Linked DNA regions of Homo sapiens: all the other regions are linked to region 1. The links are contacts of gene promoters, found by promoter capture Hi-C in blood cells and fetal thymus (Javierre and others, 2016). All regions are on one chromosome and are shown on one strand. The core of a region is centred on a gene start or on the middle of the fragment in contact, and the rest is flanking DNA. Distances in the headings are between cores, read along the strand shown.

Region 1 (3,245 bases), core at 374-2,873:
TTTAATAAAATTTGTAAAGCTCTTTGGGTGAGGCCCATTCTTTGGTACATTGGTTGGTCCTGCTACTCAAGCATCATCCTAGGTCCTTAGGTTATAAGTAAGTCCCAATAAGGGCCACAAAATAGTATTTCTCTTGAACTACTTCAGAGAGCCCAGCCTCATCTCACCTCAAATTCTTTCTAAAAAGTCTTGCATCATGTCTCAGACGAGTCCTAATATGTGGCATCCACTATTTTTCTTGTCTGTTTCTCTGCCTGCAAGTGGTAATGTCCTGTTGGTAGTGGAAGCACTGGGGTTACCTCTCATTGTTGCTGTGGAAGCTGGTACCAAGTGTTTCTGATGCCTTGGCCCTTTGCGTCCCAAGACGTCTGTGAAAGAAAAGAAAGAAAGAAAAGAAAGAGAGAGAGAGAGAGAAAGAAAGAAAGAAAGAAAGAAAGAAAGAAAGAAAGAAAGAAAGAAAGAAAGAAAGAAAGAGAAAGAAAAAGAAAGAGAGAGAGAAAGAAAGAAAGAAAAAGAAAGAGAGAGAGAAAGAAAGAAAGATTCTTTAGCTTTTTCAGTGTCACTTCCTTACCATAGGTTCTAGCTCCCCAGGCCCTGGCATCTACTAATTCTTCCTGGCTGGCCCAGACTAGATTCAAAGTAGAATTTTTGCTATATTTCAGAACCCCTTTGTCCCAGGAGACAATATAGAAGAGTGGTTAATTAATTTGGGTTCTAGAATCTCTGTAAGACTTATCAGTCCCAGATGTGTGATTTTAGAAGAATTACTCAAATCTCTGCTTCAACATCTTGAAAATGTGAATTGTGAAAATGTCTAGTTAAGAGATCATTTGTAAGATTAAGTGAGGCAATATTAAAAAAAATACATACTACAATCCTTGATGCCTAAAAGTGCTCCAAATACCAGCTGTTAGGAATATATCTGCAGTAGTTCCCCACCCAGCCACAGTTCTAGTTACTTACAGTCAACCACAGTCCAAAATATTAAATACGCTGGGTGCAGTGGCTCATGCCTGTAATCCCAGCGCTTTGGGAGACCAAGGTGGGTGGATCACCTGAGGGCAGGGGTTCGAGACCAGCCTGGCCAACATGGTGAAACCCCGTCTCTACTAAAAATACTAAAATCAGCCAGGTGTGGTGGCAGGTGCCTGTAATCTCAGCTACTCAGGAGGCTGAGGCAGGAGAATCACTTGAACCTGGGAGGCAGAGGTTGCAGTGAGCCAAGATCACGCCACTGCACTCCAGCCTGGGTGACAGAGCAAGCCTCCATCTCAAAATAAATAAATAAATAAACACAAAATTCCATAAATAAACAATTCATAAGTTTTAAATTGCATGCTGTTCTGAGTAACACAAAATCTTGCACTACGCAGCTCCACACACCCAGAATGTGAATCATCCCTTTGTCCAGTGTATCCACACTGTAAACACTACCTGCCCATTAGTTATTGAAATCATATGCTTCTGAGATCCAGCCACTAACATCACCATGGCTCAGTGACCCAGCATCACCCGAAGGAGATGATCCCCCTTCTGAGCTATGGTCAGAAGATTAGCAATAGCCTAATGCTATGTCACAATGCCTATGTCGTTTTCCTCACTTCCTCTCATCACATAGGCATTATATCATCTTACATCAGCACAAGAAGAAGAGTGAGCATAGCACAGTAAGATATTTTGGGGGAGACAGAGTTCACATTCACATAACTTTTATAGTATTGTTATGATAGCATATTGTTATAATTGTTTTATTATTAGTTATTGTTATTAAAATCTTACTGTGCCAAATTTATAAATTTAACTTTATCATAGGTCTGCATGTATAGAAAAAAAGCACTGTATATATAGAGTTCAGTATTATCGACTGTTTCAAGCATCTACTGGGGGTCTTGGAACATAGCCCCATGAATAAGGAATAACTACTATATATTGTAAAGTTAAAGTATAAACCTAATATCTAGAGTTCATTTATTTATTCAACAAATATACCTTTGGCACTGATGGCCTGCTAGACTTTCAGCCCAATACTGGTGTAAAATGATAAATAAGACAGTCATGGAATCTACTCGGATTTCACAGTCTAATCAGAGACACAAATAATTGATATAGTAACAATTGTGACAAGTGCTATGAAAAAAAAAGGAATGGGTGCTGTAAAATTTGTAATGGGAAAGAGGACCATCTCTTCACAGAGGATACAGAAGCTGCTTCCTTCTGCATCTCCCACTGTTGGCTAGAATACATTTCTGTTTATTAGGATTGTCATTTGGAAAGGCTGCATATTGAATCTGTATGGCTCAGGGTCAGACAGGGACATTTCAATTGCAGCTGAGAGTATGGCAGTTGCAGAACAACCACAGATCAGGAAGATGAGAAGAGTAGCATGATGACCCTAAAGAAATACCAAACCCAGGAGGCAGAAGAAAGAGCCATCTAGTCCTAGCGTGGAGCATATTGTACTTCTCCATTTTCTAATCCCAGAGCACCATGTGGCCTTAGGGGAATATATGGATGAAAAGAAAAAGCTGGTGTGCTGGTAAGCCACATACTTGTTTTCAAATGATGCGCACATCTCCCCTCTTTATCTCTAAAGTCTATGAACTAGGTCAGCTCCCAACTCGTGGCACCTACAGTGAACCAGACGCTGAGCCAGGGGAGGTCTAGATAACAAGAGACGATCTCTGACAGTTGCTGAAATTCTTCTTTACCTTTTAGAGCAAAACTCAGAGGCTGTCCTGTTCTGATATTTAAGTAAAATCACGAATTGCTGGTAGTTGGTGACCTAGTCAGTGAACGAGCTCCTTATCAATAGTGGGAGAATGATAGTAATAGTCCGTTCTGGGGAAAAGAATTTGGCACTGTAATGGTCTTGGGGTTTTTTAACTTTGGCTTTGTAAGCAACATTATTTTTGCTTGGGTTAAAGCCTCTTCCAGCTGTTTATCAACATAGATAAAAGTATATTGCTTTATTATTTCTCCTTGAGTCATATTCAACACTTTCTTTGCATGGGCAATGCCAGTATCCCACTGAGCATGTCCTCTCTGAGGTTGAGGTTTCCAGGTCTTTTTTTCTCAGAGTGATTGCTGGCTTCTTTGGGAGCCTCAGCCAGTAATTCTTTATACTGTTTATGACCTTTATACTCCCATACCTGCTTTTCATGAACCCACGCCCTCACTGGCTGGTTGCTAAGAAATTGGACATGATATGACCAGGCACCCCTTGTGTCAATTTTAGTATGAACTTC
Region 2 (3,245 bases), core at 334-2,833, 470 kb after region 1:
CAGTGAAGCACAGGGAGAAAAAGGTGAACATAAACAACAGAGCATCAGTGACTGGGGAGAAATTAGCACGCAGTCAGAAGACACGTAACTGGGCTACCAGAAAGACTATGAAACTTAAAGAAACCAAAAATGGAAATTCCAAATTTGATAGAAGCTATAGACCCGAAGACTCAAGAATATCAACCCCAAGTATGAAGAAAACCACACCAAGGTACATTATAATCGTATTGTTGAAAACCAATGATAAATAAAAACAATCTTAAAAGCTGCTTTAAAGAGGTACATTATATTCTTAGAAGAAAACCTAGAAGGAAATCTTTGTGACCTTGGTGTCACAAAGGATATAAAGAATATGAGTCAGAAGCATACAAACGTGACCTTCTATTCCCTTAGAATAGATTATTCCCTTAGAATAGAAGATCATAAAGTATACAAGAAAAATTGATAAATTAGACTTTTCAAAATTAAGAACTTCTGCACTTTAAAAACACCATTAAGAAAAGAAATAGCTAAATCAGAGACAGGCAGGACATTTTTGAAAAACATGTATCTATATGAGAATATATAATTAACTTTTAAACTCTATAAAAGAAGCCAAAAATTCAATTTAACAAACAGTTGAACAGAGAAGACAGCTGAGCAGCACACAAACCCATGAACAGGTGTTCGGTGTCGTCAGTCATTAGGGGAATGGCAACTAAAACCACAGTGAAATGCCACCACACAACCACCCAGATGCTAAAATTAGATGACCGATCATACCAAGTGTTGGCAAGCATATGGAGAAACTAGAATGCTCACCTGAGGCTGATGGTAAGGTGAAACGAAACAACTTTAGGAAACAATTTGGGAGCTTCTTAACCTGTGACCCAGATATTTCACTTCTTGTTGCTTATCAAAGAGAAATAAAAACATATGACCACAGAAAGACTTGACATATATGTTCTTAGCATTGTTACTCATATTAATTAGCTCCCAGCTGGAAACAACCAAAACATTCAGTAACTGGAAAAATCTTTTCGACTTTTCACTTAAAATTGTTGCTGATTCTTTTTGTTTTGTTTTTCAGAGTAAAGAAAACTTCTACTGAGCTATTTACAACTTTTAACAATTGAGCAAAATATACTCCTGTAAACAAAATTTAGAGCATATTTCTTTCTCTTTACCTGCCTTCTCCAGAATTTGGAAATTATTTGTGAGTATTTTTAACATAAGGCAATATAGTTACTTGAGTAAGTTCAATAAGAATGTGTTTTCTTTTGTAGCAAGACACAGTTGGAGACACTGCTTATTTTACCAAGGCTTTGACTGAAATGACATATTTTCAGACTGCTTTAAGAAATCGAGGCTGACCTACAGAGATGATGAAAGCCCCTTGGAGGAACTGACCTCCTACCTTGTCCTGTACAGGATTCCCGACCTGTGGCAAATAAAGAATGTCACTTTCTGACAGGCCCAGGAACTCCAAGCTTTGTTGGGACCTCAAGAAGAAAGGAATTCACCCAATTCATACAAGTATCTGCAGGCACAAATAAATCCTTGGCTGGGCTCAAGAGACTTTTAAAAGGTCTAATCTGAGATTCCTTATGAAAAAAATTCCAGCAAAGCCAGTTAGAAAAAAAGAGCCTATATGGCCAATAATTATTCTTGCTGCACTTTATGTAAATAATTAGGCAAAGTATAATAAGGCAAGCTTATTTTGCAAATAAATTGGTCTTGTCTTTAGTAAAAATAAACTGGAGAGAGAAAAATTATGTTTCAAAACAGCTACAGCACACCTGTTATTAGATTCCAGCCTCATCCATTGTTCTTGAGCTTCTGCTGATGACCCCATATTTGGTTGATTTTTGGGGTTATTCACCTGGATTCCTTGAGGCTTCAGGTCAGTTCTACAGGGACTCCTGAAGCTAGGACTTTTGAAACTGCCGCTGCAAAATTACAACTGAGACAGTGAAAGAGATCTAACCTAACCAACTGCATCTTGCTTCTAACCTCCAAGCTGTCCTTGGTCATTCCTGGGCATAGGCTGAACTAATTTTGGGAAGAAGTTAATTTATAGTTTGTAGTTAAAAATGAAGACAATAACAGCGCATTCCAGAAGAACCCTCCTTCTTTCCTGGGAACTAGATGCCTTTGTAGGACTAACAAATTAGCCACAGGATTAGAAATTATGATTTAGGAGTCATGCAGCTGGAGGCTACAAGATTCTGATCTCCCACCCCCCAAACTGCTCCTAAGATCAGCGCTTGAGATATTTTGCAGACCTGGCACTTGATGGATCAGCTGGCACCACCCAGATCAAGAAACCAGCTCATCTGATCTGTGGCTCCCACCCAGGAATTGACTCAGCGCAGGAAGACAGCTTTGACTCCCTGTGATTTCATCTCTGACCCAACCAATCAGCACTCTCGACTCACTGGCTTCCTCCACCCACCAAATTATTCTTAAAAACTCTGATCGCCGAATGCTCAAGGAGGCTGATTTGAGTAATAATAAGACTCCGGTCTTCCACACAGCTGGCTCTGTGTGAATTACTCTTTCTCTTTTGCAATTCCTCTGTCTTGATAAATTGGCTTTGTCTAGGCAGCGGGCAAGGTGAACCCACTGGGCGATTTACACTTTCACTCCTTATATTAGGGCTAATTATTATTATTACTATTATTTTAAATTTTAAGTTATGGGGTACGTGTGCAGAATGTGCAGGTTTGTTACATATGTAAACGTGTGCTATGGTGGTTTGCTGCACCTATCAACCCATCACCTAAGTATTCGGTCCAGCATCCATTAGCTATTTTTCCTGATGCTCTCCTTCCCGCTCCCCAATAGGCCCCAGTGTGTGTTATTCCCCTCTGTGTGTCCATATGTTCTCACCGTTCAGCTCCCACTTATAATTGAGAACATACAGTGTTTGGTTTTATGTTCCTGCGTTAGTTTGCTGAGGATAATGCCTTCCACCTCCATCCACTTCCATGCAAAGGACATAATCTCGTTCCTTTTTACGGCTCATTATTTTTCTTCTTAAATGCTGTACTAAATCTGTGGATAAGAGCACCAATGTTTTCGTTATACACATGTTGGACCCCAACAAGTTGCACTTGAATACATACAGGCAACTGCAAGACACTTCCACTCCTTTTACCCTGGGGTCAACCCCTCCCCCAAATATGCCCCCTGTCAGCAGGAAGAAGTTAGAGCAATCATTAGCCTTTTCTCATCTCCGTAGCTAACACCTCAGGATTGAGGGG
Region 3 (3,245 bases), core at 495-2,994, 400 kb after region 1:
TGCTTTCTTTCCTCGTCATTTACACGCAAAACCTGCAGATGGACAGAGTCTCGGAACCTAGTGTTCCAAACAAAAGTGCTGTCCTGGCCAAGCAAAGCAAGGAGAGTGTGTCCCTTTATCACCACTCTTGCAGGCAACCTGGGAGCTGACCCCTTTGCAGCCTGGAGGCAGGAGCTGCTGTGATGCCCTCTAGCCTTTGAGGAACAGCCCCCACCCACTCTCCCTTCCAAGGCCGTGAGGTTCAGAGTGGAAGAGTCCAGTTCTGCCTGGATCGGGTACGGTGCTGCCCACGGCAGAGGGCCCCAGAGAGAATGCAGCTGAGTGTGTACTGACCCTGGGCCTCTGGGCTCAAGGGAGGCAGCCTTTCACCCTCCAAGGAACAGGGGCTCAGACAGTCTGAGAACACAGAACACCTGGGGCCAGAGACAGGCTATTGGGAAGGACTGGGGCTATCACACGAGTGAATTCTAAAATTGCGTGTGTGTGCGTGTGTCTATGTGTATGTACACATGTAAATCAGTATTTTTTAGTGCAAAGGATAAAGTGAACTGAGAATATCATAAACACAGGCTCTTTAGGGCTCCTTCAGCGAACAGATAGTCTCATTTGTAACAAACACGTGTTGTTGATTCGCCAAATGATACAATGCTGAAAAATAATGTGCTTTTCTCCAAAAATCCTCCAACTGTTCCCTCATTCCTACTTCTATACATAGGTACATTTCTTAGCAAATGCCGTGTCCTGGAATTCAAAAATCAGGCTAGAACGGTTACAGCCAAGAGGAGCCTCAGGAGGCATGATGATGACATATACTCCAGGGTCATGGAAGAAAAAAAAGGGCATTAGGTGACAACTAAGTATCTGAAAAAATATGGACTTTAGTTTGTAGTAACGTATCAATAATAGTATTGGTGCATTAATTTGACAAGTTTAACATACTAATGTAAGATGTTAACAATGATGGAAACTGCGTGGAGGAATGTGGGAACTCTCTGTACTATCTTTGCAGCTTTTCCATAAATCTAAATCTATGCTAAAATAGAAAGTTTATTAAAAACAATCCGGCTGGCCATTGGGGGCTCCCGCATGTAATCCCAGCATTTTGGGAGGCCAAGGCCGGTAGATTGCTTGAGCCCAGGAATTTGAGACCAACTGGGTAACATGGAACCTTGTCTCTACAAAAAAATACAAAAATTAGCTGAGTGTGGTGGTGTGCACCTGTAGTCCCAGCTACTCAGGAGGCCGAGGAGGGAGGATCGCATGAGCCCACGAGTCCAAGGCTGTGGTGAGCCCTGACCACACCACTGTGTTCCGGCCTGGATGACAGAGTGAGACCCTATCTCAAAACAAACAAACAAACAAACAAAAAACAATTGTGCCTGGCCTGGTTTGATGGACTCCTGTGCCAAATAAGGGTTACAGGTGGGAGGTGGGTGAGTTGAATGAAAAATCAGAAGGCTTGTGATGGCTTCATCTGAAGTCATCTCTGGGAGTGCTTTGCCATAAACATTCTTCTTTCCCTGTTGTCTCAGCTGACCCTTATGCCAACTGCCTGAGATATTATTATCCCATTTACAGATGGAGAAACCAAGTTTGGAGAGTGCTGTCGTTTGAATGTGTCCCCTCCAAAATTCATGCTGAAAGTTAATCCCCACGGTGGCAGTATAAAGGGGTGAGGGCCTCAGGAGGTGATGAGGCTGTGAGGGCTCCTCCCTTATGAATGATTCATGCCTCATCAAGGGGCAGTCCGGGGCCAGCTGAGGCCTTTCCCCCTCCCGCCAGGTGAGAAGGTGCCAGGTGAGCATGCGCCAGGTAAGCTCGCAGCAGGAAGGCGCCACCATGGAAGCAGAGAGCAGCCCTCTCTAGACACCAGTGTCGGCCCCTTCATCTCAGACTTCCGGCCTCCAGAACTGTGAGGAATCCATTTCTCTTCTTTATAAATTACCCAATCTATGGTATTTTGTTACAGCAGCACAAGCAGAGGGAGCAGTTCTGAGCCTCCCACCACCCATTCCACCCACGCAGCTGTGCCTTTTCACAGGCAGTCTCTGCACCCACGGCTCACTTTGCTCTGTGATCCTTCCCCCCTCTCTGCCTGACTGGTGGGCCAAACCTTAATATGCCTTCGAAATTTGCTCCTATTTCACCTCCTCTGAGGAGAATTCCTTGACAGTCCCTCCTAATTCACCAGGCCACACTCTGTATGTCTTCTGAGGCCTGTGCAAATGAATTCTCTCCTCCAGCTTTTCAGATCCTGTATTCAAGCACGCCCTCCTCCAGGGTTTCCTCTTTGAATCCACACTATCCAGCCTAATGCCTAGAGGACAGTGGCTGGGAGATTTGCATTTCTTGAATTGAATTGAAGCTGGCATGAAACCTGCATTAATCAGCTCAGGCTGCCATGACAAAGTCCCACAGACCAGGTGGCTTCAACACCAGCCGTTCATCTTCTCACTGTTCTGGAGGCTAGAAGTCCAAGCTCAAGGTGCCGGCAGGGTTGGTTTCTCCTGAGGCCTCTCCCCTGGGTTTGTGGATGGCCACATTCTTGCTGTGTCCTCACATGGTCATCCCTCTGTGTTTCTGTGGCCTAATCTCCTTTTCTTTTATTATTATTATTTTTGAGACAGAGTCTTGCCGTGTCACCCAGGCTGGAGTGTAGTGGCTTGATCTCAGCTCACTGCGACCTCCAACTCCCAGGTTCAAGCGATTATCCTACCTCAGCCTCCCGAGTAGGTACCACCATGCACAGCTAATTTTTGTATTTTTAGTAGAGATGGGGTTTTACCATGTTGGCCAGGCTGGTCTCGAACACCTGACCTCAGGTGACCTGCCTGCCTTGGCCTTCCAAAATGCTGGAATTGCAGGCTTGAGCCATGAAACCCAGACCCTAATCTCCTTTTTTTTTTTTTTTTTTTTTTTTTTTAAGACAGAGTCTTGCTCTGTCACCCACGCATGCAGTGGAGAGATGTTGGCTCACTGCAACCTCCACCTACCAGGTTCAGGCGATTCTCCTGCCTCAGCCTTCGAGTAGCTGGGATTACAGGCATGCACCACCACATCCAGCTAATTTTTGTGTTTTTAGTAGAGACAGGGTTTCACCATGTTGGCCAGGCTTGTCTTGAACTCCTGACCTCATGTGACCCACCCACCTCGGCCTCCCAAAGTGCTAGGATTACAGGCATGAGCCACCACACCCAGCCAATCTCCTTTCCTTATGAGGACACCAGCCATATTGAATTTGGGCC
Region 4 (3,245 bases), core at 204-2,703, 380 kb after region 1:
AGAGTGATGAAATTAGCCTCAGCTGTTGGCAGTGAGGGGGTGGCAGGGTAGAGATGGGGAGCATAGGAGGGCTGAAAGGGGCAGGGAGACAGCCTTGACATGCGTGGAAAGTCTAAAAAGACAAAAATTAGCTGGGTGTGTTGGTGAGCACCTGTAATCCCAGCTACTCAGGAGGCTGAGGTATGAGAATCACTTGAACCTGGGAGGTGGAGTTTGTAGCGAGCCAAGATCATGCCACTGCACTCTAGCCTGGGTGACAGAATGATAATCCATGTCAAAAAAAAAAGAAGAAGAAGAAGAAGTGAGGAGAGGCTACTATAACCACAGTGTGTGGTCATTATTAGATATTAGATTAGATATGAATTATTAGATGCATCTGGCATGCAGAAGATATTTAGGAAACCATAGCTATTGCTACTACCCTTAATTTCTGGATTACACAGAGAAGGGATGCTAATTCCCACTCCTTCCCATGCCAATAATTTTGTCTCCTGTTCTGACTGAGAAGGTTGAGGTGTCTGGAATGAGGATTAGCAGATGGTCCCATAAAGAGGGAGTCCTCTGTTTATGGGAGAGTCCCTCCAGTTCTGCATATGTTTGCTGAACATGCATTGATTGTGTGGCACCCCACCTCGCTGCTGATACATTATTTTAAAATCAAACTCTTTGTTTTGGTATTTAGAAGCATATCTTTGATTCTCCGTAAACAGTTATGTAACCACTTTTTTCATAGTAAACCATACATAGTTAAGGGCTACATATTTTCAGTCTAATTAAATAAATTCAATAGATATTTACTAAGTGCCAACTCTGTGCCAAGGCTGGACCAGGCCCTGCAGCTGGAGATGGAAGATGGTGTTTCCTTGAGAAGATTACCATAAAGAAGAGAGACGAGAGTCATCACTACAGCACAGGTGTGTTAAAGGGAGAATAGATAGTTTTCGAGTGTTGTGGAAGCATAGGAAGGAGGAATTAATTCCTCTTGGGGAAACGGAGGAGGAATAGCAGCAAGGCGGATCTGACATGTAAGGGTGTGAACGCCCCCAAGGAGCAGGGGCATTCTAGACACTGTGGGTAAACTTGCTGATGGCCTCCTGTGGCTTCCGCTTGGGCTTGGTGGGGAGGAGAGGAGAAAGTAAGGCTGGAGAGGCAGGTGGGCTGGGAATGCTGAGGCTGGAGCTTGACAGTAAGAAGCCCTGAAGTGTTTTCATCAGGATTTGAGGTGATGGAGTGGCATTCCGGAAAGATCCCTTAGGCAACAGTGGGAAGAATGAAGCAGAGAGAGGCAAATTGGGGCTGAAAGAGTAGCAGGGGCTGTTGAAATAGCCCAGAGGAGCTGCAGTGATGGTCTGAGCCAGGGCAGCAGCAGTGGGGATTTCTCGGGGGCTTTGGACGGAAAATTGACAGGAGGTGGCTGGAGGTCAGACGTGAGGCTCCAGGGCGGTGAGGATGGCTCCCAGGCTTTCCGCTCCAGTGACTTGGGGAACACAGTTGGAATATTGTGAGCGTTTCATTGACTTCACCAGAGGTGTGTGAGCCCTCTGTCTTCTCCTGAGCCTCAAGAAGTCTGGGAGAGGATGAAATAGGGGAGGGAGGGCATGGGAACCAGGCAGGGTAGGAAAAGCCAGGCTGCCTATTGTGGTCAGACCTCACCACTCCCCGATTTCCTGGCAGACACGGAGAACAGGGATACCGGGCTGGGCACAGGAGTGGGGCCTCGACAAGCAAGAGAAGCCCCCTCCAGAAGCAGCCCCGGGAGCCGTCCTCTGGGGAAGCAGATGGTCCAGGAAGCAAGAGGAGGGAACAGGGCCTCATACACAGGTGTCAGAGGATCCTAAGAACATTCTGGACTGGCAGCTTTCTCTGTGGGTTTTCATGGGCTCAGCGGCTGCCTGGGTGGGACGCTGATCCTGGCTCACTTTCAGGCATCGAGGAGACTGACAATCTCCTCGTCTTATCCACGTTCTCCCTCCAAATTCATTAAGTTAAATACACACACACACACACACACACACACACACACACACTAAGACAGTTTCAAATGTGCTAAGCTAGGCAATAGATTTATATATTATAAAGAGATTCTATTCTCTAAGAACTAAAAACAATACTATAAATGCTCCAATTACAACTTACTTTTAAACTTAATGTTTGATGATATCCTTTTGTACTTGTCCTCTCATCGTGCTGGTCTCTGATTTTGTGCCTTTCCTCTGATTTTCCTTCACAGGTGAACACAATCGACCAGCCAAGGTGATTCACACACTTCAGCTTGAAGCTGATCTGCCACTTGTGTCTTCTTGTCTCTATTGAATTAAGTTCCTGAGACCTAATCCTTCCCATCACTAGTATCGGTGCTTTTATTTTTGTTTTCTACTTAGTTGGATAACATAGTGAAGGAAAATGTGCTAATATAATAGAAATAATTGCATTAATAAGCCTGGTAAACAGGCAGAGACAGTGGGAGCCATGGCCAGAGGCAAGCTGCTGGCAGCCAGGCAGTACCACCATACAAAAGCTCACAAATTTCTTTCAAGAAATGCCATACGGCTGGGCATGGTGGCTCATGCCTGTAATCCCAACGCTTCGGGAGGCCTAGATGGGTAGATCACTTGAGGTCAGGAGTTCAAGACCAGCCTGGGCAATATGGTGAAACCCCCCGTCTCTACTAAAAATACAAAAATTAGTCAGGCATGGTGGTGCATGCCTGTAATCCCAGCTACTCAGGAGGCTGAGGCAGAAGAATCGCTTGAACCTAAGAGGCAGAAGTTGCAGTGAGCCGAGATCATGCCACTGCACTCCAGCCTGGGTGACAGAGTGAGAGTCCATCTCAAAAAAAAAAAAAAAAAAGAGAGAGTTCATAATGTCTGCGTGTGAAGGTGTAGGCTATATGACAGCTAAATATATAACAGTGAGGACCATCTGGCTTCAATTTACAGATTTATTTATGTAAAAACTCTCTTCTATTTCTTCACCTTAAAGAAACATGAATAAAATATCCAACGCTCTCACTGGTGCAATTCCTGAGAGATTCCTTTGTCGTATTGGGATCTGTCAATGGGTAGATAAGGAGAAACAAAGGAAGGGATAGAAGTGACACAGAGAGAGAGAGAGAAGGTAAAAAATAAAGGGAGAAGCAGAAAAAATCTTTTTAAAAACCTATAATTAATATACTTTGAATGCTAAGGTATTGCCTTAATGAAATGAGACCAGGAAATTGTGAAAAAACAATAACCAGAGAACAA
Region 5 (3,245 bases), core at 253-2,752, 340 kb after region 1:
ATTCTATAAGCCACCATTCTGTCTTTCTGGCTGGCTCTGTATCAGGTTCTGCCCACAGACAACAATGAAGGGAGACTACAAGGCTTGTGGAGGTGAAGGAAATACACCTTTCGTTTGCTTCCTAGTCATAAATGCTTTTCTCTAGCCTCTCTATCATGGCAGCAACAGTTCATTCTTGTAGCAGCAGCTGAATCCAGTTTTCAGTTTTGTCTTTTTTTTTTTTTTTTGAGATGGAATCTCACTCTGTAGCCCAGGCTAGAGTGCAGTGGTACGATACTTGCTCACTGTAACCTCCGCCTCCTAGCTTCAACTGATTTTCCTGCCTCAGCCTCCTGAGTAGCTGAGATTACAGGCATGTGCCACCACGCCCAGCTAATTTTTGCATTTTTGGTAAAGATGGGGTTTCACCATGTTGGCCAGGCTGGTCTGGAGCTCCTGAGCTCAAGTGTTCCCTCCATCTCCACCTCCCAAAGTGCTAGAATTACAGGTATGAGCCACCACGCCCAGCCCAGTTTTTCTTATTCTTGCAGAAACAAACTCTTCAAGATGCTGTCAGAGATGCCAGTACTGTCTGTCACTCACCCCCTCCTCAGACATATGTTTCCAGCCCCATGGGCCTCTCCTCCAAGTGTCTAAATGTTAATAATTTCAACCTTTTTCTTCTGATTGCCCAACTTTACAAGTAATATCTGCCTCTGCAGTCTCTACCTTCATCATACGTTAGGATTATCTTTCTGCTTTAGTGGTTTTTCCATGCCTAGTTAACAATTCCTTTTATTATATTATCTGTTAAAAATACTGATATAGTTTCTGTCTCCTCACTGGTCCCTGGCTGGTACCCCAGCTCATAAGATAGTTTTATACGGTAGCTGGTTATAAAAGAAGTTTCTGAAGAAATTAACTTTCATACCAACACTAACTAGTTAAGAAACATAATTGGGTGTTTATCTGAAATTCACTTGTGACTGGGTATCCTGCATTTTTATCTGCTAAAGCTAGAAACCCTCAATATGGAGAGCCTGCTCCAAGTGTTTTGGGATCAAGGGATGGGATAAGTGTTGATGGGGATGCTGTGTCAATGGTGGGATCCTACACAGGGCTACTGGCATTATGATAGCGTCCTGTTCCAAAGCTTGGATTAGCACACTAGGACAACCCAGGGTTGAAGATAAGTGAATGCTTTACAAAGATGGTGTCTGAAGGGTGGTGAATTTCCCAGGAATATTATCCACACACATTACAATATATTGGACATAATGTCAGCTCTACCTACTCTCTCCAGAATTCTTGTCTTATTATTCGTTTTTGTCAAGTCACTCAAATACACCAATTCGCTGCTGTCTCAGAGCCACCTCCCATTAAACTGACCTCTGACTACAATGGTACTAGTTGAGTCCATGAGGCCAATAAACCTGGGGGCCTTGTGGGCTGGGGGGGAAGGAGCCAGGCCACCCGGAGCTGGCCTGAATCAGTCTTTCTGGGAGTAAAGTCTCTCCTGAGGGAGGTGAATGAACTCTGTTCTCACCCAGCTCACAAGCCACGTTTTCCTGGTGGCGCTAACAGTGCATTCGCCTCCCTTGAATGGCTTGGGTCACAGAACGGTTTGTTCTTGTTTGTTGAATAATAGTACCAGGGAACTACCACCACCACCACCACCATCCCCTTTACATACAAAACACAGAAATTCAAACATTTAGGTTCAAATTTGTATCCAAGAAAGGTCTGGAAAGACCCTGCAAATGTAAAAATAGTTACTCTGGGAGAATGAGATTAGGGGGTTGGGTAGTGGGAGTAAGGCAGTGCTTTTCTTTCTTTCTTTCTTTCTTTTAAAACATTTTATTCACTGCTGCATTGCTTGAAAACAAAAGCTTTACAAACAGAATGTAATGTTAATAATTTGTAACAGACCAGTAACAAAGCAATAACAATAGAAACAAAATTTGAAAATAAAACCCACTTCCAAACACAACTATTTTCATGTTTTGAAATACTGTTTCCCCCCACACACACAATTATTGCAGTTCATAGGATGTGAGCAATTTTTTTTTTATTCTGCTATGTTCCTTAACATTTTACTACAATTTTTCTTTGCATTGCTAAAAATTCTTTCTGAGCACACCCGTTTCAGGGCTAGAAGGGTAGCTTTGAGGACAGCTTGTAGCAAAACTTGTCTTTCCTGAGCCCTGCCTTACCCAGCTAAGGAAGGTGGAGGTGGGGAAGGGGTTAGTTTATCTTGGGCAAGTTCCTTCTTTTCTCTGGGCCTCAATTTTGGTGTTTGTTTTTTTTTTTTTTTTTTCCATCTGGAAAAAGAGGCACTGGAAGCAGGTTCTCCCAGGGTCTCTTCGAGTTCTCATCTGTTACCCTCACCAAGCACATCATAAATAAGGATCATTTGGACATAATTCTTTGTAAATCTTTATTTAATCCACCAGCCTTCCTGTTCCAAGATCACTTGGCGCAATGCAGTTCATTTATCCTCATGATAAATACCTGGCAGTGGACAGAATTTTCCCTTTCATAGATGGAGAAACTGAGTCCAGAGGTGTGGGATGGAGGTGTGGGATGATTTACCACCGTTTCGGCCTCTTATCAGGGCAGCCCTGGGGTTCGGCTGCCCGTGCTATGGGTGATGCATAGCAGACGGGGTCTCCGTGGTGTGGACATCACGGCGGCTTACGTATGACTATTGCACAGATCCATCATGTGCCTGCGGCCTCCCTTTTTTTCCTCTTTGGACTTCAAGTCACTATTTCTCTGTGACATTTCTTTGGGATCTATTCGTGAATAAACCTTTGGAGCCAACACACACACACACACACACACACACACACACACACACGCACACACGACAATTTGGTCACACCTAAGAGGCAGATAAAGCTGGAGCGAGCCTGCAAAAGGAGCTGCAGATAAAAAGTCCAGTATCGGGGCAGGTAACACCCAATTACAACTGAGCAGTATTGACTTACACTTTTCCTTATCGGGGGAATCAGGTATTTGTGTAGATTTGTGTAAATCAGAGAAGGATTTGATGGATACCAGTGCATTGGAGTCTCTAGCCAACGGACAGGTTTGGTTAAACAAAATATATATTCTCCTTATCTGCAGTGGCGACTATCACTGCAACTCCCCGTCTCCCCTCTACTCCTCCGAGCTCTATAAAAACGAGGGCCTTATCTAGCATTTGTAATAGGCTCATGTCTAGCAGGGTCTGTGCTAAAATCACTCTGACAATGCCACAGCTC
Region 6 (3,245 bases), core at 529-3,028, 310 kb after region 1:
CACAAAGCAAACATTTATTGAATGTTTACTATGTGCCAGGCATCATGCAAACTTGTAGATACAAGGATGAACACAAGTTTCTACCCGCAAACCGGAGAACAAAAGCGTCCTGCAGACAGGAGCAGGAGTGAGCGCTGGCAGACACGAGCAGGAAGGGGGACCCACGGCACCTCCTTGGGGAAAAGGGCAGGTGGGAGACGACCTAAATGAATTCAAGGAACACATTGCTTTTAATGTAGAGGTGTTCCCCCCTCTCTTTTACCTAGTACTCTTTCTGGACCTCAACACACACACACATGCACACACATGCACACAGACGCACACACAGGCTGTGGCCTGAGTTGGGGGACAGAATGCCTGCGGACTCTGTGCTGTTCATGCACTGACACCCACACCCATAACCTATGACTTGGCCCTTTTCACACATTCGATGCCAAACACTCATATCGATCCTGGACCTGCGGAGTGCCCATTTGGAGGGCACAAGGGCTGGGAGTGGGGGTAGGGCAAGAGATGCAGGCCCCAGTATAGTTTCCATCACCTCCTCCTGGTGTGGCCTCAGGCACGCCAGCCGCCCACTCTGGCCCTCGGTCTCCTCATCTGTGAAATGCACCGGTTGTGCTGAATCAATCCTCTGTCTCTCTCTCTCTCTCTCTCTCTCTCTCTCTCTGTGTGTGTGTGTGTGTGTGTGTGTGTGTGTGTGTGTGTGTTTGTGCTGAATCAATCCTCTTTTTTTCTCTCTCTCTCTCTCTCTTCTTTCTCCCTTTCTCTCTTTCTCCACAGGGTCTCACTCTGTCACCAGGCTGGACTGCAGTGGTGCGATCTCAGCTCACTGCAGCCTCTACCTCCCCAGGCTCACATCTTCCCACCTCAGCCTCCCCAGCAGGACCACAGGCGCGCGCCACGACGCCTGGCTAATTTTATTTTTTCGTAGAGATGGAGTTTCGCCATGGTGCCCAGGCTGGTCTCTATCTGCTGGGCTCAAGCGATCCTGCCGCCTCTGCCTCACTAAGTGCTGGGATTACAAATATGCGCCACCGCGCCCAGCTTGCCGAATCATTTCTAAGCTTCCTTACAGCTCTTTAGGAACAAATGAACACCACATCGTTAACAGACACTGGGATTAAGAAGTGGAATAAAGCCATGTATTTGTTGCCGGGTAGAAAAACGCTGCCGGCCCACTCCACGCAGAGGCCCCGCAGGCGCTGGCAGAAGCCTCGGTGCGCGGCCGGGGGTGCAGCCCGGGTGATGGATGGCCGCGGGGCCGGCGCCTGGCAGGCCTTATTGATGAGGTGCGCGCTGACGGCCGCCGCGGAACCCCAGGCGGCTGGAGGCGAGCGCGGGGCGGCGGGCGGCGCAAACTCGGCGGCGCTCGGGGTCAGCCCCCGGCCGGCCGCCCCCGCCTCTGCCCGGCCTGGCGCCCGCTGCGCCGGCCCCGCTTCCTCCCCTCGGCAGCCTCGCTTCCCGCCCCCCGTCCGTCCGCGCCCTCGCGTGGGTCCCGGCGCCTGCTCTCCCTCCCAGCCTCCCGACGGAGCAGCCCCGCACCCCTCACCCCCGCACCCCCGCACGCACCCGCGGTGGAGGTCGGCTGAGGCGCAGAGGCCGCGGGTCCCCAGAAGCCGGTTCCCGCCCCAGCGCGGGGGCCACGCCCTCCCAGGCGGAGCCGCCGCGGCCCGAAGGATCAGATTCAATCTAGATCCGCATGAGCATAGTTTCACGGGAATTACTCACGCTGTGCACGGGAGGAGAAAATTCAGGACACCGGTCAATATTCTATTAGGGTTCATTCGAATTATATAGTGATAGATAAGATAGGTAGAGAAATCAACGTAAATACACCTGCGTATAAAGACGGCGAGGTCTTGCGTGAAATTTTTTGTACGTTTCTAATGTTCTCATGGAGCAAGTGTTCTTTTATAACAGCACACACTGTCATTGCTGTGCTTGAAAAGGTGTGATGGAGCTTAGTTCATTCTCCACCCCTGCGCTCAGTTTCCCCCAGTTCCACCTTCCTCCCTCTGGTTGTTGCCTCGTTTTTCTTCTCTTGCCTTTGGGGAAGTAGGAGTGAGGCTGCTGGGCTGTTACCTGAGGCCATTAGGCTGGAGAACAGGTGGCCCGAGCTCCTGCCTGCCTCACCTGTCACCTTCCCTTTCTACGGAAAGCACCCACGGCCACCTCTGTTGGTGACACTAAGGTGAGGATCATGAACAGATCCCCTGCGAAGCAGTCTCCCTGAATGAGAATTAAAGGAGAAAGTCAACATTGTAAGCAACATGGAGCATTTATGGTCTGAAGTGGTTTTTGATTTTTTTTTTTTCTTCCCTCTTTGAGTTGAGAGCTAGCCCTGGACTGGGAAAGGTCCTAAATTCTTCCTTAGATGTGCCTTAAGTACTGGGAAACAGGTAGTCTTTTGTTTGGGGCGCCATAGAAAGAGGAGGGAGGGACCCCAGGTTGCTGTGGCCTGAGTGTCAGTGTAGAGCGAAGCTTAGGCCTCGAGGATCTGGATCTAGTTGAGGCTGGAGGGAGCTCCTTGGTCTGGGAGTCAGGATTCCCGGATTCTAATCCCACGACTGCCACCAGAGGACTGCCATGCCCACAGGCGAGTCACTTAACTTTCTAAGCCTTAGTTTTCTGTCCATAAAATGAAGAGACTACTAAACTGTCTCCCAGGTTCCTTCCTATCCCAACATTTTGTGACTTTAAGCTCTCGAAATCCAGCCTGGACAACATGGAGAAACCTCATCTTTAATAAGGAATAGAAAAACATAGCGGGTTGTGGTGGCACGTGCCTGTAGTCCCAGTTACCAGGAGGACTGAGGTGGGAAGATCATTTGAACCTGGGAGGTTGAGGCTGCAGTGAGCAGTGATGGCACCACTGCACGCCAGCCTGGGCAACAGAGTGAGGCCTTATCTCTTAGGGTGGGAACACCAGGATCCTAAGTCTGAACTCAATCTTAGCCATTCATAATGAATATGTTCAGTGAGGAACTAAAAATGGGAGGCCCATCTGAATATGCAAAATAAAAGGCTTGGATTGCAGATGAAAACTGGGATCCATTTACTAGGCAAACATTTACTGAGTAACACTGGACATTGCTATATGCCAGGCACAGCGCCAAGTATGCTGCGTGGATTGATTATCCACACAATCATTTATCCACACAGTCACTCTATTTCCTCCATTTTATAGATGAAGAAACCAAGGCACAAACTATTAAGTAACTTGCCCCGCTTATAAGGTGGTG
Region 7 (3,245 bases), core at 254-2,753, 280 kb after region 1:
AGATATCATAAGATAGGAAAACCTCTAGATAAGCAACCAAATTGAGTTGTTTGAATCAGATCTGATTGTCTGCCCCTGGTTCAAACTCCCACACCTGCTCGGAATGGGTCAATGAGCGCCTCCTGGCATGGTCCCGAGGGGTTTGGAAACATTGCAAAAGTGGTGAACTTTGAGACTTCAGCGTTTATTCTGCGATTATAATTAACCTGCTCACCAGTTGCTATCGATCAGTTCTAAATGGAGGCGATAAGGTTTGACTGGATTTCTAGAAGTAGAAATGGAGATTTCAACTGGGGAGTAGAAAGGAAGATTTAAAAAATAACTTAAGGACTGATTAGATTTTAAGAAGCAAAACTGGATTTGCGATTAGGGGATCCCAAAACCCATGGCTTTGATCTGCCTGGAAGAATCGTGAGGAAGCTTGAGTACAAAGGAAAACTCCAAAATTCAAAATTCCCACCAAATTGTGGTAGTAACTTCTTGATTTTTTATCCTCCAAAATAAAATATATCTGTAACTATTCAATGTGGGTTACAGACAGCCTCAAATTTTACTTGCAGAGGCTTTTCAATGACTTTAAACACACAGAATGGCCCACCTGTCTGGATTTTACTCCTCCTTTGGAGGGAAAATATATTTTAAAACATCAGGTCAATTCTTGGGCTCCTGCAAAATGCAGAAGGCCAGAAAACCAAATTCCCATCATTCAGATAAGAAACTTGAATATCGTGGCTCAATTCTGATTACAGAGCAGTAATAGATAAAAGCATAGGCCACCTGCCAGAAACAAGAAAACTTCCACTGATGGGCTGCTACATTCAGTTCAGACCAATTCCACGGGGCTTTTCCTGCCTGGGGTTTTAGTCATTGTCTTGATCCATGCCCCATTCTTATCTTTACTAAAATCATCATTATTGTGCTTTTATTATGATTTTCTCCTCTTCTTTCTCTGCTTTTACCACAAATATATTTGAAATCTTCAGAGAAAAGGGAACACAGAGGGTCAGTTATAGATTTCTCTTAGGAAAGGGATTTTTGAGTGAGCCATATGGTTTTGCTCTTAAGCAGCCAACAGTTCCCCTAGAGTTAGGAGAATCCTCCCATTGGAAGGGTCTGAATCCTGGGAAGTCTCTTTAGTTCTCTGCACACCAGAATCCAACGGCTAGAAAGGAAGTTTGTGCAACACTGGGATTCCTAACATTGCATTCCTGAACTGCAGAGCTTACAGTTGAGGAATGATACGGAAGATTCCGTAGGACGACATTGCTCCTAGAGAGACAGTGATTGGTGGGAAGCAAACGGAAACTCAGACAAGAAGCTACCCTGGGGAGAGGAAGCGGATGGGAGCGACAAGTCATGGAAAATCCTAAGGTTTAATAGAGCCCTTCAATCACACATAGCTTCTGGTTCTGAAGAGCCAAGTGCCCTCATATCAGATTTGGCAAATACAAAGTGTGGGGAAAGGGGGAAAGTACAATCCTGCAGGTTGGACTTACCTGGGTTCCAAACCAGGGCTGTTTACTACCCACGGGGACCTGAGATTACAGGCTCTTTCTGGGTATCAGCTTTCTTTCCAGCAAAACAGAGATCATCGTATCTACCTCTTGGAGAAAGACTTCAAAGTCCCTGGCATCAGATGATTTCTTCATTGACAGGGATCCACCTTACTGTTCAATGGAATGACATGCAAGATACAGGCTACTCTCGCTAAAAAGTTGTTAGCCAGTATCCAAACGTGAATGTGCCAAAACTTATAAATGTATTTTGTATAAATTAAAACAGATTCAAGATTATTCCTATTATAACCCCATTTATATTTTCTTCCCTGCCTTCTTTAGAAGGTAACAAAAGAGTAGCTCTAGAGATAGCCATTAAATTACTCTTAGTAACCAGTTTATGTTGTATGGCATATGGGGCCATGTCATGGTCTACCAGAGGTCAATATAGCAGAGCGATACTCCTTCCCAACAGAGCCTTAACAGCTGGTTCTGCAGGCAGGCTAGGACAAATAAGTTCCCAAAAGACAAATAGTTTCAGATGTCAGAAAAGTTGCTTCAAGTTCTTAAAGCAGCAGCTCGCGTTGGCAAGAACTGCCCTCTTCTGGAACAAGGAAAGGAAAACTAGCATACTTCCTCTTTCTTATGCAGACACAAGCAGCTACATTTGCAACTGGCTTCAGCTCTAAATTCAGTACAACTAAATTGTCTTAAAATTTGTTTAAAAGAATCACCTTGCCCTGGAGGAAGGTAACTTGTTCTTCACACAATCCCACCGCTGCAGCCGGTTAGTGGTTTTCAGGCAGGTTCTAACTCCAATATAACCTGAGGGAAAACTGCCTACCTGGAGAGGTCACCATTGCCTAGTACGTGACTGTTTGTGCCCACAAGTGGGGAAGCCACAGTAGTGTGGGGCTGGGGTGTCCGCCCATTGCTGATTTAGATCCACTACCAGCACTGAGACCAGGAGTAGAGATTTCCCCCTCTCAGTAAAGCAACCTCCTGTGAAATAAGCAAAATCAAAAGCCAAATACAGGATTGCCACTGAGGATGGTTTTGATCTGCCTTGAAGAATCTTGAGGAAGCTTGAGCATAAAGGAAAACCCCCAAAATTGTAAAAGAATAGGTAAAAGACAAATTTAATAAAAAACAACTTATGCCTTAAAGCAGTTTTCCTGTGCATCCATAAACACTAAATAGAGAATCTTCTTTAAAAAAAAAAGAAAAAGATGCTACTTTCAGGTTGATTCATGAATATCATGTATCTGTTTTTTAAAACTTAATTAGTTTAATATGTTTTTAAAATTAGGTAATATAGTCACATTCTCCAAATTCAAAAGGTTTCATTTGCATACCCATGTTCATAGCAGCATTATTCACAGTAGCCAAGACGGAGAAGCAACTCAGGTGTCCATCCATGGATGAATGGATAAACAAAACGTGGTCTACACATACAATGGAACATTATTCAGCTTTAAAAAGGAAGGAAATTCTGGCACATGCTACAACATGGATGAATCATGAAGACATTATGTTAAATGAAATTAGCCAGAAACAAAACGACAAACACTGTACGATTCTACTTGTGTGAGGTCCCTAGAGTGGTCAAATTCATAAGAAAAAGAAAATAGAATGGGGGTTACCAGGGGCTGGTGTGGAGAGGAATGGGAGTGGTATTTTAATGGGCAGAGTTTAAGTTCTAAAGATCTGATACACAGCAATGCAAAGGTATTTAACACTACTGAACTG

Evidence for each region. The method cuts DNA at HindIII sites, captures the fragments that hold promoters and counts their contacts. A CHiCAGO score of 5 or more calls a contact.
Region 2: a fragment that was not itself captured here is called in contact with the fragment with the promoter of DEFB134 in region 1 in 4 of 17 cell types (monocytes, M1 macrophages, total CD4 T cells and 1 more); the score reaches 6.5 in monocytes.
Region 3: a fragment that was not itself captured here is called in contact with the fragment with the promoter of DEFB134 in region 1 in 6 of 17 cell types (M2 macrophages, non-activated CD4 T cells, endothelial precursors and 3 more); the score reaches 6.7 in M2 macrophages.
Region 4: a contact is called between a fragment that was not itself captured here and the fragment with the promoter of DEFB134 in region 1, in 2 of 17 cell types (erythroblasts and M2 macrophages). The highest score is 6.0, in erythroblasts.
Region 5: a contact is called between a fragment that was not itself captured here and the fragment with the promoter of DEFB134 in region 1, in 2 of 17 cell types (endothelial precursors and megakaryocytes). The highest score is 5.9, in endothelial precursors.
Region 6: a contact is called between a fragment that was not itself captured here and the fragment with the promoter of DEFB134 in region 1, in 1 of 17 cell types (M2 macrophages). The highest score is 5.8, in M2 macrophages.
Region 7: a fragment that was not itself captured here is called in contact with the fragment with the promoter of DEFB134 in region 1 in 4 of 17 cell types (M1 macrophages, erythroblasts, monocytes and 1 more); the score reaches 6.3 in M1 macrophages.

Annotation. Positions count from the first base shown.
Region 1 is chr8:11,999,130-12,002,374 of GRCh38, reverse strand. It overlaps DEFB134 (defensin beta 134), which reads left to right and starts at 1,623. Exons shown (of 3, transcript NM_001302695.2): 1 at 1,623-1,667. It overlaps LOC105379245 (a long non-coding RNA gene), which reads right to left and starts at 242. Exons shown (of 3, transcript XR_001745644.2): 1 at 168-242. It also overlaps the pseudogene OR7E160P and the pseudogene LOC100421446. The HindIII fragment of the contact is 7,293 bases long and covers 1-3,245 here.
Region 2 is chr8:11,528,525-11,531,769 of GRCh38, reverse strand. The region is part of intron 1 of BLK (BLK proto-oncogene, Src family tyrosine kinase); the gene reads right to left. Among named protein-coding and RNA genes, the nearest start is that of BLK-AS1, 28 kb to the left of the region's middle. The HindIII fragment of the contact is 224 bases long and covers 1,472-1,695 here.
Region 3 is chr8:11,598,222-11,601,466 of GRCh38, reverse strand. No RefSeq gene overlaps it. Among named protein-coding and RNA genes, the nearest start is that of LINC00208, 23 kb to the right of the region's middle. RefSeq lists an enhancer at 1,193-2,029. The HindIII fragment of the contact is 6,914 bases long and covers 1-3,245 here.
Region 4 is chr8:11,619,171-11,622,415 of GRCh38, reverse strand. No RefSeq gene overlaps it. Among named protein-coding and RNA genes, the nearest start is that of LINC00208, 44 kb to the right of the region's middle. RefSeq lists an enhancer at 1,050-1,550. The HindIII fragment of the contact is 4,298 bases long and covers 1-3,245 here.
Region 5 is chr8:11,661,106-11,664,350 of GRCh38, reverse strand. No RefSeq gene overlaps it. Among named protein-coding and RNA genes, the nearest start is that of GATA4, 41 kb to the left of the region's middle. The HindIII fragment of the contact is 736 bases long and covers 1,135-1,870 here.
Region 6 is chr8:11,690,988-11,694,232 of GRCh38, reverse strand. It overlaps a transcript of GATA4 not described here. Among named protein-coding and RNA genes, the nearest start is that of GATA4, 12 kb to the left of the region's middle. The HindIII fragment of the contact is 1,417 bases long and covers 1,070-2,486 here.
Region 7 is chr8:11,715,786-11,719,030 of GRCh38, reverse strand. All of the region lies in intron 2 of GATA4 (GATA binding protein 4), which reads right to left. Among named protein-coding and RNA genes, the nearest start is that of SNORA99, 12 kb to the right of the region's middle. RefSeq lists a cis regulatory region at 164-177 and an enhancer at 99-243. The HindIII fragment of the contact is 2,161 bases long and covers 423-2,583 here.